Linked DNA regions of Homo sapiens: region 1 is linked to region 2. The links are contacts of gene promoters, found by promoter capture Hi-C in human tissues and cell types (Jung and others, 2019). All regions are on one chromosome and are shown on one strand. The core of a region is centred on a gene start or on the middle of the fragment in contact, and the rest is flanking DNA. Distances in the headings are between cores, read along the strand shown.

What was found. Contacts are between HindIII fragments. The study calls those that stand out against the background at their distance.
Region 1: a contact is called between a fragment that was not itself captured here and the fragment with the promoter of WEE2 in region 2, in 3 of the 25 tissues and cell types used here (bladder, pancreas and spleen).

What each region holds. Positions count from the first base shown.
Region 1 is chr7:141,664,274-141,669,791 of GRCh38, forward strand. DENND11 (DENN domain containing 11) reads right to left here. Exons shown (of 9, transcript NM_001080392.2): 5 at 2,014-2,152; 6 at 914-1,045; 7 at 631-781. Among named protein-coding and RNA genes, the nearest start is that of DENND11, 35 kb to the right of the region's middle. The HindIII fragment of the contact is 3,190 bases long and covers 2,137-5,326 here.
Region 2 is chr7:141,705,976-141,711,661 of GRCh38, forward strand. It overlaps WEE2 (WEE2 oocyte meiosis inhibiting kinase), which reads left to right and starts at 2,378. Exons shown (of 12, transcript NM_001105558.1): 1 at 2,378-3,125. The coding sequence starts at 2,784. All of the region lies in intron 3 of WEE2-AS1 (WEE2 antisense RNA 1), which reads right to left. The HindIII fragment of the contact is 8,083 bases long and covers 1,067-5,686 here.

The DNA.
Region 1 (5,518 bases), core at 2,482-4,981, 40 kb before region 2:
GGTACCAGGACCGCAGTCACAGGTGAGGCCTCAGCCAGGCATCTTCAATGGGCCACCACCTCCCAGGAAGCAGCACCAGCCAGGAAAGGGATCAACAGGGTTTGGACTCAAAATCCCTGGGGTCCAGGGCCAGTTCTGCCCCTGGTAATCTTAGGCAAGTAACAATCTCCTAGTTGTCTATCAGAAGGGGATGATGATGATGATGATACTTATTTCACAGGATCACCAGATTATTGACAATGACATCAGATACATATAAGCAAGCTTCTAATACGGCGACCAACACAATGAAGGTGCTCAGTCAAGGTGCTTCTAAGCCGCACACACAGGTACATCTAAAGGTCACGTGGAGAGCAGCTGGCAGCTAAGGTAATTTCCACAGATTCCAAAGTCCATGAGAAGAAATAAACCAGCACCGTGGATCTACTCCCCTCCTATCAGGGCAGCATACAGGGAGCCTGGCCTCTTCTACTGCGGGGCTTCCCTTCATTTCCATCTCCATCCCAGGCAGCATGGAGACTGGGAGAAATGTGTCAGGGAAGGGGCAGAAGACAGGCTTTGCAGAGACCCCCATGCTGGAGCTGCCCTGAGGAGGGTGGAGCCCCTGGTTCTCCCCTTAGCTGCCACTACCTCTGCTCGTTGAGCCGGCGGTACTTCTCCCTGTCAGCACTGTTGATCTTCAGCAGCGGCTGCAGGTGGTCGTGGTGTGTCTTCACATTCTGGTTATCCACGTAGACGTCATACAGCTCCCGCTTCTCCTCGAATATCTTCTCTGTGGTGCCTGTGGAACCCGGGGTTAGAGAGGTGGGAACCCACCCGACCCCACTGGGAAACAAGGCGCCCAGGAGCCCTGTGTCTGGGAGGAGCAGGGCTGGGACCTGAGGGCAAGATGAGGGGAGGGCCCCGTACTCACAGGCCACATAGGACACCTCTACCTCCAGGCTCTCGATGTCAGCCACGTTCACGTAGAAGAAAGGTTTGGACTCAGGAATGGTGCCCCCGATGCCAGGCAGTGAAACGTTGGCCAAGCAGCAGCAGCAGTACACTGTGGGGATAGAGGAGGTGAGCGGGGAGGGTCTGCCCCTCCACAGCCCTTCCTCCCTCGGAGCCTGCGGCTCAACACCTCTGCTCCAGGCTATCTGGTGCTTCAGGATCCAGGTGGTCCTGGCGTTCTGAGGAGACTGGAGGTGGCAAGCCTTTTGGGGTGCCATGGCAGAAACTGACCCCTCAAGGTGACGTCAACAACGTGCTTCCCAAACCCAATAAACATTTCTCAGTCTTTCTCTAGCTGGTCTTGCTTAGAATTTGACCTTGTCAGAACTCCGGCCTCTGTAACCCTTGTGTCTTCCGGTTCCCCCTTCTGCCTGTCCCTCCCTAGTCCTTTCTGTCCTTCCACCTTTCTGGTCCACTTCCTGTGCCTGGAACACCCCTCCACACTTGTACTTTCCCCAGGTAACGCTGTCCATCCTGGATATGAGTGCAGAAATAATCTACCACCCTCAAATCTTTATCTCCAGCTCAAACGCCCACAGGTCCCGACCCAGCTAGGCAGGGTGGGCAGACACCCCTGCTGTGAAGGTCTCAAGGCAGCACACCCTCATCACATCCCACACTAACCTTATCAAGCCAGCCCCCGGCTCCTCCTCCGTCCCCCATCTGGTGGCCCCACCACCCTTGTTATCCTAGACTCTGCTTCCACTGCAACCTCACACACATCAGAACCTTTACAACCCAATCAGACAACAAGTTTTGTCCAGTTTCTCTTAAATCCATCTAGAATGCATCTTCTCTGCTTTAATCCAGCCCTAATCTTTGGCCAGGCCACTGATGTGTCATCCAACCCATCTTCTACATTGTCAACAGTGTTCACAGCCAATCAGTTCACTCCCGGGCTTAAAACCCCATCCCCTGGATGTGGCCCAAGCTCTTCCAAACTTGGTCAGTGACAGAAAGACTCAAGCAGTTTCTGCTCCAGGGATTTAAGCAGCACTCCTGACTCTGGCTTCTGGTTACCTCTATAGCACACCACGCCCACAGGTGGGGGAGAAAATATCAAAATGCGCTTTCGAAGTAAGGCAAATTTCCAGAGGATGAGGATCTGTTCTCCAAAGAACTTTATAAACTGAGACATGCAGCCAGCTGGGTGTGTGATCTGAAAAAATTGAGGGGAATAGGGAGGAGAAAGAGTGAGGAACAGCTTCTTAGAAATATAGCAAAAGGTATCTAATCTCCTTCTCTGAAATTCTAAAGTCCATCCAAACAGATACATTAAAGGATGCTTATTTCCACACACAATGATGTTTTTCACTTTAAAAGTCTTACCTTTAAACTGGATTTCTATAATACAACAGCTCCCTGATACACTGATGTTTGAGTTGAGTGATCATTATTTTACTCAGGAGAACAATGCAAAGGAAACAAAGCTAAATTTAAATTTAAAAAAACCAGAATAAAAGCATCTGCTTCAATAAGAAAACTCAACTCGAAAACATTACTAAGCACTGTTAAGTAATAACATGATGAGCAAACAGTCCCCAGTCAGATCCCAAATCTATGGGGGCTGCTACTGTGCAAAGTGAGGTGTCTGCAGAAGTCACAGGTAGGAAGGAGCCCCTGGCATAACCCCTGCTGCACTTCACCTCTGACCACTCTTCCTTCTTTTTTTGAGATGGAGTCTGACTCACTCTGTCACCCAGGTTGGAGTGCTGTGGCGTGATCTTGGCTCACTGCAACCTCTACCTCCTGGGTTTGATTTTCCTACCTCAGCCTCCCAAGTAGCTGGAATTACAGGCATGCACCACCATGCCCGGCTAATTTTTGTATTTTTAGTACAGACAGGGTTTCACCATGTTGGCCAGGCTGGCTTTGAACTCCTGACCTCAACTGATTCGCCCACCTTGGCCTCCCAAAGTGCTGGGATTACAGGCGTGAGCCACCACGACTGGCCCCACTCTTCCTTCTGTCACTAACTGGCAACCCCTGAATTGCCTTCTAGGAACACTGAGCCAAGGAGTATCATAGGGGTTAAGAGCATAAGCTCTGATCCCAGGAAGAGCTGAATTCCAATCCTGGCCCTGCCATTTACTAACAGGGAGATCTGGGGAAAGTTAGCTAATGTTTCCGGTTCACTATCCTTAACTGTGAAATACGGAATCATCACCTACCTCGTAGGGTTACTTTAAGGACCGCCTGAGACAAAACATGAAATAGCACATAAAAATAGCCAATATGGGGTGGCCACTACTGTTGCTTTGAAAAACAGAAAGGCTTCAAACCCTGGGCCTTGTGAGCTTTGTGAAAGGTCATTTCCATGCCAAAGTGCCAGAAGAAAGAGCTCATCACCCATCAGGGAGGCAGGCAAGAGCACTTCTGAGAGAGGCACCGACTCTCGGGCTGCGTGCTAGGGTTTAACAACCACCAGCCTTCAGAGGCACCTATACCCGAGCCTCAGGGCAGCCTCTGCACTCTGCCTGTCCAAGCCAGGGCTGTCCTGGACCCTCCGAAGCTGTGTCTGCACTACCCGGAGAGGATTTCCCTTTCCAAGGCATCACTCCTGCACTGATACCATTCCCCTACCCCATGCCAGGATAAAGGCGACCCTGAACTGAACATGTCCTGTTTGCCACCCACGCCTACTCCTCTGCCACCGCAACCCAAATCATGAGGAGGAGAGGCACCAAGTGACCAAGGCTGGTTGCATCCCTCCAATCGCTATTTCTCTTCAAAGTCTAACAGCAACCAGATAGGAAAGGGTGCCAAAGCACGTGCCGGTTCCTCCCAGCTTTCCCACTGGTTATCTTCAAGCTCCCAACTTGTTCTTCCACCACACAGAGGCCAGGTGGGGCTTGCCCAATGTATATTTTATAGGCTAGTGGGAGAAAGCGATTAAAATATAGCCTGACAGAGCCATGATGGGAGAAGAATGGGGCATGGTGGAGCAAACTGGAGGGTGCCTGATCCCACTCTAGGAGAGACAGAAAAGACTTCCTGGGGGAAGTGATGTTGAAGCTTCGACATAAAGATGAATCTGAGGCCGGGTGCTGTGACTCATGCCTGTAATCCCAGCACTTTGGGAGGCCGAGGTGGGTGGATCACAAGGTCAGGAGTTCAAGACCAGCCTGGTCAACATGGTGAAACCCCATCTCTACTAAAAATACAAAAAATTAGCTGGGTGTGGTGTCGCGTGCCTGTAATCCCAGCTACTTGGGAGGCTGAGGCAGAAGAATTGCTTGAATCTGGGAGGCAGAGGTTGCAGTCAGTTGAGATCACACCACTGCCCTCCAGCCTGGGCAACAATGCGAGACTGTCTCAAAACAAACAAACAAACAACAAACAAAAACAGATGAATCTGAGGGAAGGTGTTCACATACAAAGGCCTGCAGGTAAGAGGCAACATGGCCCTTCTTGGGACCTGCAAGTAGTTCAGGCCCTGTGCCCAGGCCCATGCCAGGGAAGCACTGCCCACAGGGCCACCTCCTTTCTTCTAAAAGGGTCAGCTCTAGAGACTTCTCACCCCTTCTCACCTGCACATGCAACAGAAATTCCTCCTGCTTTCATTGAAATCTCTTTCCCTTTTTCCAGCCTTGTTTCTCTGGCTTTTACAGAGAAATCTCTTTTCTTGATGTCTCCAGTGCGTACCTTCATGTTTTCCCTCCAACCTTTCAAGTCCATACTCCATCCTCTTTTCACTCCAATTTCTTTTTACTCCCTAACCACTGTCAGTTCAGTGTCCATAGCAGGCTCTGATAGACCCATGCCTGCCACTAGGGAAGCCCTCCACTCCCGGGGCCCAGCCCCCCTCCCCTGTATCCCTCTCCCACTCCCCCATTTTCCTAAGGGGAGCATTTAGCAGCCACATCTGGACCTCTCAGAGAGGTCTTCCTCTTCCCTCTGCTTCCTTTCCAGTTTATTTTTTTCCCTCTGAAACATTCCTATATCTGACTCCTACATTAAAAGCTTACTTCTTTAAAGTTTTTTTTTTTTTTTTTTTGAGAGGGAGTCTTGCCCTGTGTGGCCCAGGCTGGAGTGCAGTGGCGCTATCTCAGCTCACTGCAACCTCCGCCTCCTGGGTTCATGCAATTATCCTGCCTCAGCCTCCCAAGTAGCTGGGATTACAGGCGCATGCTACCATGCCTGGCTAATTTTTCCATTTTTAGTAGAGATGGGGTTTCACCATGTTGGCTAGGCTGGTTTTGAATTCCTGATCTCATGATCCACCTGCCTTGGCCTCCCAAAGTGCTGGGATTACAGGCATGAGCCGCCGTGCTCAGACTAAAGCTTTTCTTTATACGTGTGTTCATGTTGTAAAAATTCATTGAATTATATACGTATGATTTTTGAACTTATTTCTATAAAGTTTTATATTTCAATAAAAAGCTTAAAGATATATATATATTATTTTCCATACATGACAAGTATTGTATCATATATACTATTTTTGAACTTATTCCTATAAAATGTTATATTTCAATAAAAACTGACAGATATATTACATTATTTTCCATCCATGACAAGTATT
Region 2 (5,686 bases), core at 1,128-3,627:
ACCTGAAGCTTTATGCTGGGATGGATGCCTGTGGGATTAACATATACTGAAGCAGAGATGAAATTTTTCATAATGGAAAGAGGCTAAAAATGAAGAAAAGGCTACAATGTGACCAAAAAAATAGTGAGGCCATGGGCCAGAGGCCATAGGTAGCACCTCTAGGGATTCCCTTGGGTCATCCAGATCAGCAACTATGCAATTCTTATTATTTAGTTGTCCAAATTTGGGATATCTTTTTTGTACTCATTGTTACACCTTTCTTATTCTGAAGACTTAGCCACAATCATTATCTTCTGAGTAACAATACATGAAAAGGTGAATGGTGCAAGTTTCTAACAGTATTACTGCCGATAACATAAGACCTCAACCATTGCAATGGCATAGCTGCCTCCCTAGGCAAACAATGTAGTCATAAATAAGGGTAATCAAGAATTATAGCAAGGGAGAGAGAAAAAGCAGCAGGTGATAGAAAAAAAAAAAGAAAACCTGGTCTACTTGGGTAATACCTAATAAACCAGCCCCTGTGCCCTGTCTACAGGACAATAATATAGCCAGTGTTTTGAGTCAGTCCTGTTTTACTGAGAGCAAAGCCAGCCTCTAGCTGCCTGGAGAGGCAGGAATGACAAGCCATGGCATGTGAGGGGAAATTCATCAACACCAAGGCTATAGAAAAGAAATCTATCATCTGGCTTGCTGATTTGTAAACAAGACACTCCTAGGCTGAGAATCCCAGTTGATAATAATTGCATTACTGGTAACCTATGAGTTCTCCTTTTTCTTTGATGATTCTGTTTTTACTGGCCCCTGTAGGATACTGAATCTCTGACAAAGGTGGGCAGTGAGTTACTGCATTTTGTGAGCAATATTTTACCCCCTGTTGAATTATCTGGGATAGTTTGTGTGGGTGGGAGGCTGTAGGGAAGGGCCAAGGAAGGATGAATTGGTGTGCCCACCTACAAAGGGCTGGAGCATGAGAAGGCTTTGAGCTGAAAAAACACTTTGAAGTCTCCCCAGTTAGTTTTCATTTGGATTACCCTCCTCAGGAGTTCTGGCTGGGAATGGGGAAGGAATTAGGAGAAAGTGGTGGAGAGATCTGTGAAAAGAGGGAAATGGAAGAGGGGTGACAGGTAGCAAAGACTATAAAGAGAAGGGAAATAACATTTGTTTCAAACTCATCAAGCTGGCCTTGGTTCCTGTCTCTCTTTGGGCCCATGTTTATCATGTAAATAATTCCCTATTTGCAGTCCCTCTGAAGCCTCCTTGAGGGGCATGAGTGTATCATTTTCCTTTTTCATGGACTGCCTCTCACATAGTTTTCTTCTATAATGTGATATCAGTGAGGCCTTTTTCCTTTGATATACCTATACATTGTGTAATGATTACCAAAAATTTACCACACCCATATGCACCCATGCTGTACATCAGGTCCCCAGAATTGTTCATCTTATACCTGAAAGTGTGTACCCTTTGATCAGCATCTCCCCATTTCCCCTGCCTTTCCAGATCCTGGTAACCACCATTCTACTCCCTCCCTCTAGGAGATCAACTGTTTTTGATTCCACATATAAGTAAGATCATGTAGTATCTGTCTTTCTGTGCCTGGCTTATTTCACTTAATATCCCCCTGGTTCATCCATGTTATCACAAATGGCAGCCTTTCCTTTTTTATGACTGAGTAATATTCTATTGTGTGTGTGTGTGTGTGTGTGTGTGTGTGTGTGTGTGTATTCACCACATTTTCTTTATTCATCTGTCCATGGCTATTTAGGTGGTTTCCATATCTTGGCTGTTGAGGATAATGCTGCAATGAATATGGGTGTGTTGGTATTTTTTTGAGATAGTGATTTTATTTCCTTTGGCTATATAACTGGAAGAGAAGAGGGACAGCTTGATTGTATAATAGTTGTTTTTTTCTTCAAAGAGTTTTCCATCCTTCTCATAGGGGCTTCTCTGAGAAAGAAATTAAATAATGTGTACTAAAGATATTAAAAAGCATTTTACAATATAAGGCATTTTTGGCAGAAGCCATTGCTGTTTTCCAGTGATCAATATCTGTTTCTATGGTTTGTTGATCTTTCTAGCCTTTCTTTTGTCAGTTTAAATTTTTGTTCAATTCCCTAGAAGCTTTAACTGCTAACAGCTAACAGCTGCAGGAGGGAGATGCCTGAATTAGGGCAGGTGTGTTTGGCACAGAGCTAAGCTGTGTCTCTGTCAGGGATACAAACTCCAGTCAAGATATGTTAGAGGCTGTTTAAGGATCATTATGATAGCCAGGTGATGCTAAATTGTAATTACCTGCTGTTAGCTATTGGGTGGGTGGGGAGGAGAAGGGAGGAGAGGGTGATATTTATAAATGGCAGGTGTAAGGAGTGAAAATAATTTCTTTTCAATATTAGCTTATTCCCAAATTGGCTAATGGGTATTTTTAAAGCCATGCTAAATTAAAGGAATTCAATTTTCTCACTAGTATTTGGTAACACATGGGAGACTATGTGTCATATCCAGAAGAGTTCTGTACATGAACTGCATTTAATTGCTCCGAGAGTCACTGGAGCTTTCTTTAATCAGAATGGAAATCAGGATAAGCTGAGGTCTTATAGATTGGTGGTACTTAAGGCAGAAAATTAACACCGTGTTTTGTAGCTGTTAGTTGGTAGAGGGAAATTCAGGCTACCGTCGCGAAACCTGCAGGTTAAGTTATTTTCTCCTCCCTGCTTCTGTAGGTTCACAGCGTTCCCTTCTGATAGAGCTTTTTGTCTGTGTTGTAAAGCTCTTTGGCTGAGATGGATGACAAAGATATTGACAAAGAACTAAGGCAGAAATTAAACTTTTCCTATTGTGAGGAGACTGAGATTGAAGGGCAGAAGAAAGTAGAAGAAAGCAGGGAGGCTTCGAGCCAAACCCCAGAGAAGGGTGAAGTGCAGGATTCAGAGGCAAAGGGTACACCACCTTGGACTCCCCTTAGCAACGTGCATGAGCTCGACACATCTTCGGAAAAAGACAAAGAAAGTCCAGATCAGATTTTGAGGACTCCAGTGTCACACCCTCTCAAATGTCCTGAGACACCAGCCCAACCAGACAGCAGGAGCAAGCTGCTGCCCAGTGACAGCCCCTCTACTCCCAAAGTAAGTAAGGGGTGGGGGAAAAAGGGACGCAGGTCGCCAAGCTCTGCTTTCCTGTAGTTTAGCTGATAGAGTGGATTCATGTGTGTATGACAGTCACCTCCAGGCTGTGTATATCCTCAATTACACATTTATTGATGAAAATGAAGAAATTAAAATTACCAGAAAATGGACAGAATTAAATGGTTTGCCAGTTGTCTTCTCAAAACCACTGGTGCCAGTAACTGTTGGCTATTGGCCACAAACAAATCTTGGGTAGAAAAAAGTCCCTAGTTAAAGAATATTGGAACTGGAAGGAATATTGAGATTTAGAGCTCCAGCTGTGCAGTTTACATATGAGAAAATGAAGGGCCCAAGACAGAAACTGTCTCACAGCTCAGCCAATGTTACAGACAGGACTAGAAACCTGATCTTTTTGGCCTAGTCTATTGTTCTTTCCATTACGCCAACTGGCTCTATTTTTGTGTGATTATTTACTAATACTTTCTAATATAAGAACGTCCACACTCACTGTTTGAACATAGTCATATCTCTTTGCTGCTGCTCCTCCCAGAAACAACTCCTCTCCCCTCCTTGGTCTAATAGAAGAACCTCCAGGTTCTTCTAGTATATGTCAGCAAAGAGGAAACTTGTTGATACTTCTTCATAAGCTGAGGATGGCAAATAAGCAAGAGTCCCTAGTAGCATATTCCTTTATTCTTGTTGTGATTGGTGTCCTGTTGCATCGTTCATGTTATTAAAGCCATAGTTGGGGCAGGGTTGCCTCTAATCAACTCTGGTGCCATGGTGTGTGAGTCCTAGGATTGGTATTAGCTCGGCTTCCTGCTGGTTCAGCCTGAGGCACTTAAGATCATCATAATAACATCTGTGATCCTGACTGCGACACAGTTGCTATCAGCAGGTCTCTTTAGTACCTGCTGGGTGTGGGTACCATGTATACCAGGAAATTCTAAGCTGCTTGTTTGAATTGTAGAAAAACTAATATGCTCCGATGTCTATCTCTGGGTTTTTCAGTGGTCACAGCACCAGCCAATTAATCACCCATTTATTCTTTGAGAATTCCCTATAGGTAAGGAGCATATAATACAGTCTCTGCCCTCAAAGAGCTTACAGTCTAGCAGAGAGAGAGTAGTTATGCCAAAAGGCACTATGTGATAAGTGTGGTCAGAACCCGCTGGACAGATTCTCAGTGTGGTGATCAGGAAAGAAAGAAAGGTATAGGAAGGGCAATGAAAGTTGGTCCAGTTTTGATATATGGGGGAGAATGGGCTGAGAGAATGTGGCTTTGAGTAAGAGTACACAGAGAAGAAAACATGACATTCATTTGATCATTCACAGCTTAACTGAACACCTTGATGTGTTAGCAGACCCTCTGCTGGCAAAACCCATTCACTGCCTTCAAAAAGAGCCCACAAAATGAATAAAGATTAAACAAATGAAACAATAAAGTTCAAAACGTGTACTAGAGGAATGGTTGAGCATGATGAGAAGGAATTAGGAATTACATCTCTATCAGGGAAGACTTTCCAAAGAAAGTAATGTTTGAGAGATGTCTTAAAGGATATTTGGAGTTAGCCAGGCAAAGAGGGGAATAGGAATTCTAGGCAAAGGGAAAAGCATCCACCAAGTTATGGAGGGGAAGGAGCTGCTACACTTGGAAAACAGCATGTTATTCAGTGTGACGGGCCTGTGTGTGAGAGAGTGCAAGAGATGAGGCCAGTGTAGGTGGGCAGAAGCTAGATCAAGATTTTAATCCTGAGAGTGTTGAGAGAGCCATTACCATGGTTTTGAGTAGAGGGATTTTTTTGGAAAAATCATGACCTTTGTATGTATTGTGGGATGGAGCATGAGAGAGCCTGGAGGTAGAGCAGTATTCAGAATAGCCCTGTTGAACAAAGAAGAGCCTGGACTAGGACAGTGAAAAATTCAGAGATGACTTGATGGAGAGGTCGAGGGAAAACGAAAACAATCTGATGACTGAGGTTTCTTGCTTGGTTCAGTAGACAGAATCAAGATAGATGACACTAAGGGATATATGGGTTTGGAGAAAAGCAGAGATGTGGTATAAAAAGTTGGATAACTGGGTATGGGGCACAAGAAAACAATGAAAATTGGAAATCCGTATTTGGATATCTACAGCATTTAGGAAGTAGTTGAGGCCATGGGTGGAGATAAGGTCACATAGCCTGAGTGCCAGAGTAAGGAGAGAAGTGGCCCAGTTAGAAATCTTGGATAATGCATTTAAGGGAGAGGCAGAGAACAGGGCTTGGGAGCAAAACTGAAATGCAACTGGGAAAGTACATACTTTATGAAAACACAGTTTGCGTTAGAGGAAAGAGGCTTGATGGCTGATCATTGTTATGCAGAAGACAAAGCTGCATGGGAAAGGAGGATTGGCTTAGTCAGTCTTGTCCAAGGGATGGAACCAAAAATCATGTGAAATTCAGTTCACTGTAAGGACTTCCTGACAGAATCATCTAGAGATAGAAGAGCATGCTTAGGAGGTGTAAGCTCCCTGTGGCTAAAAGCATAGAACACTCATTGATGACCGACCACTTGGTAGA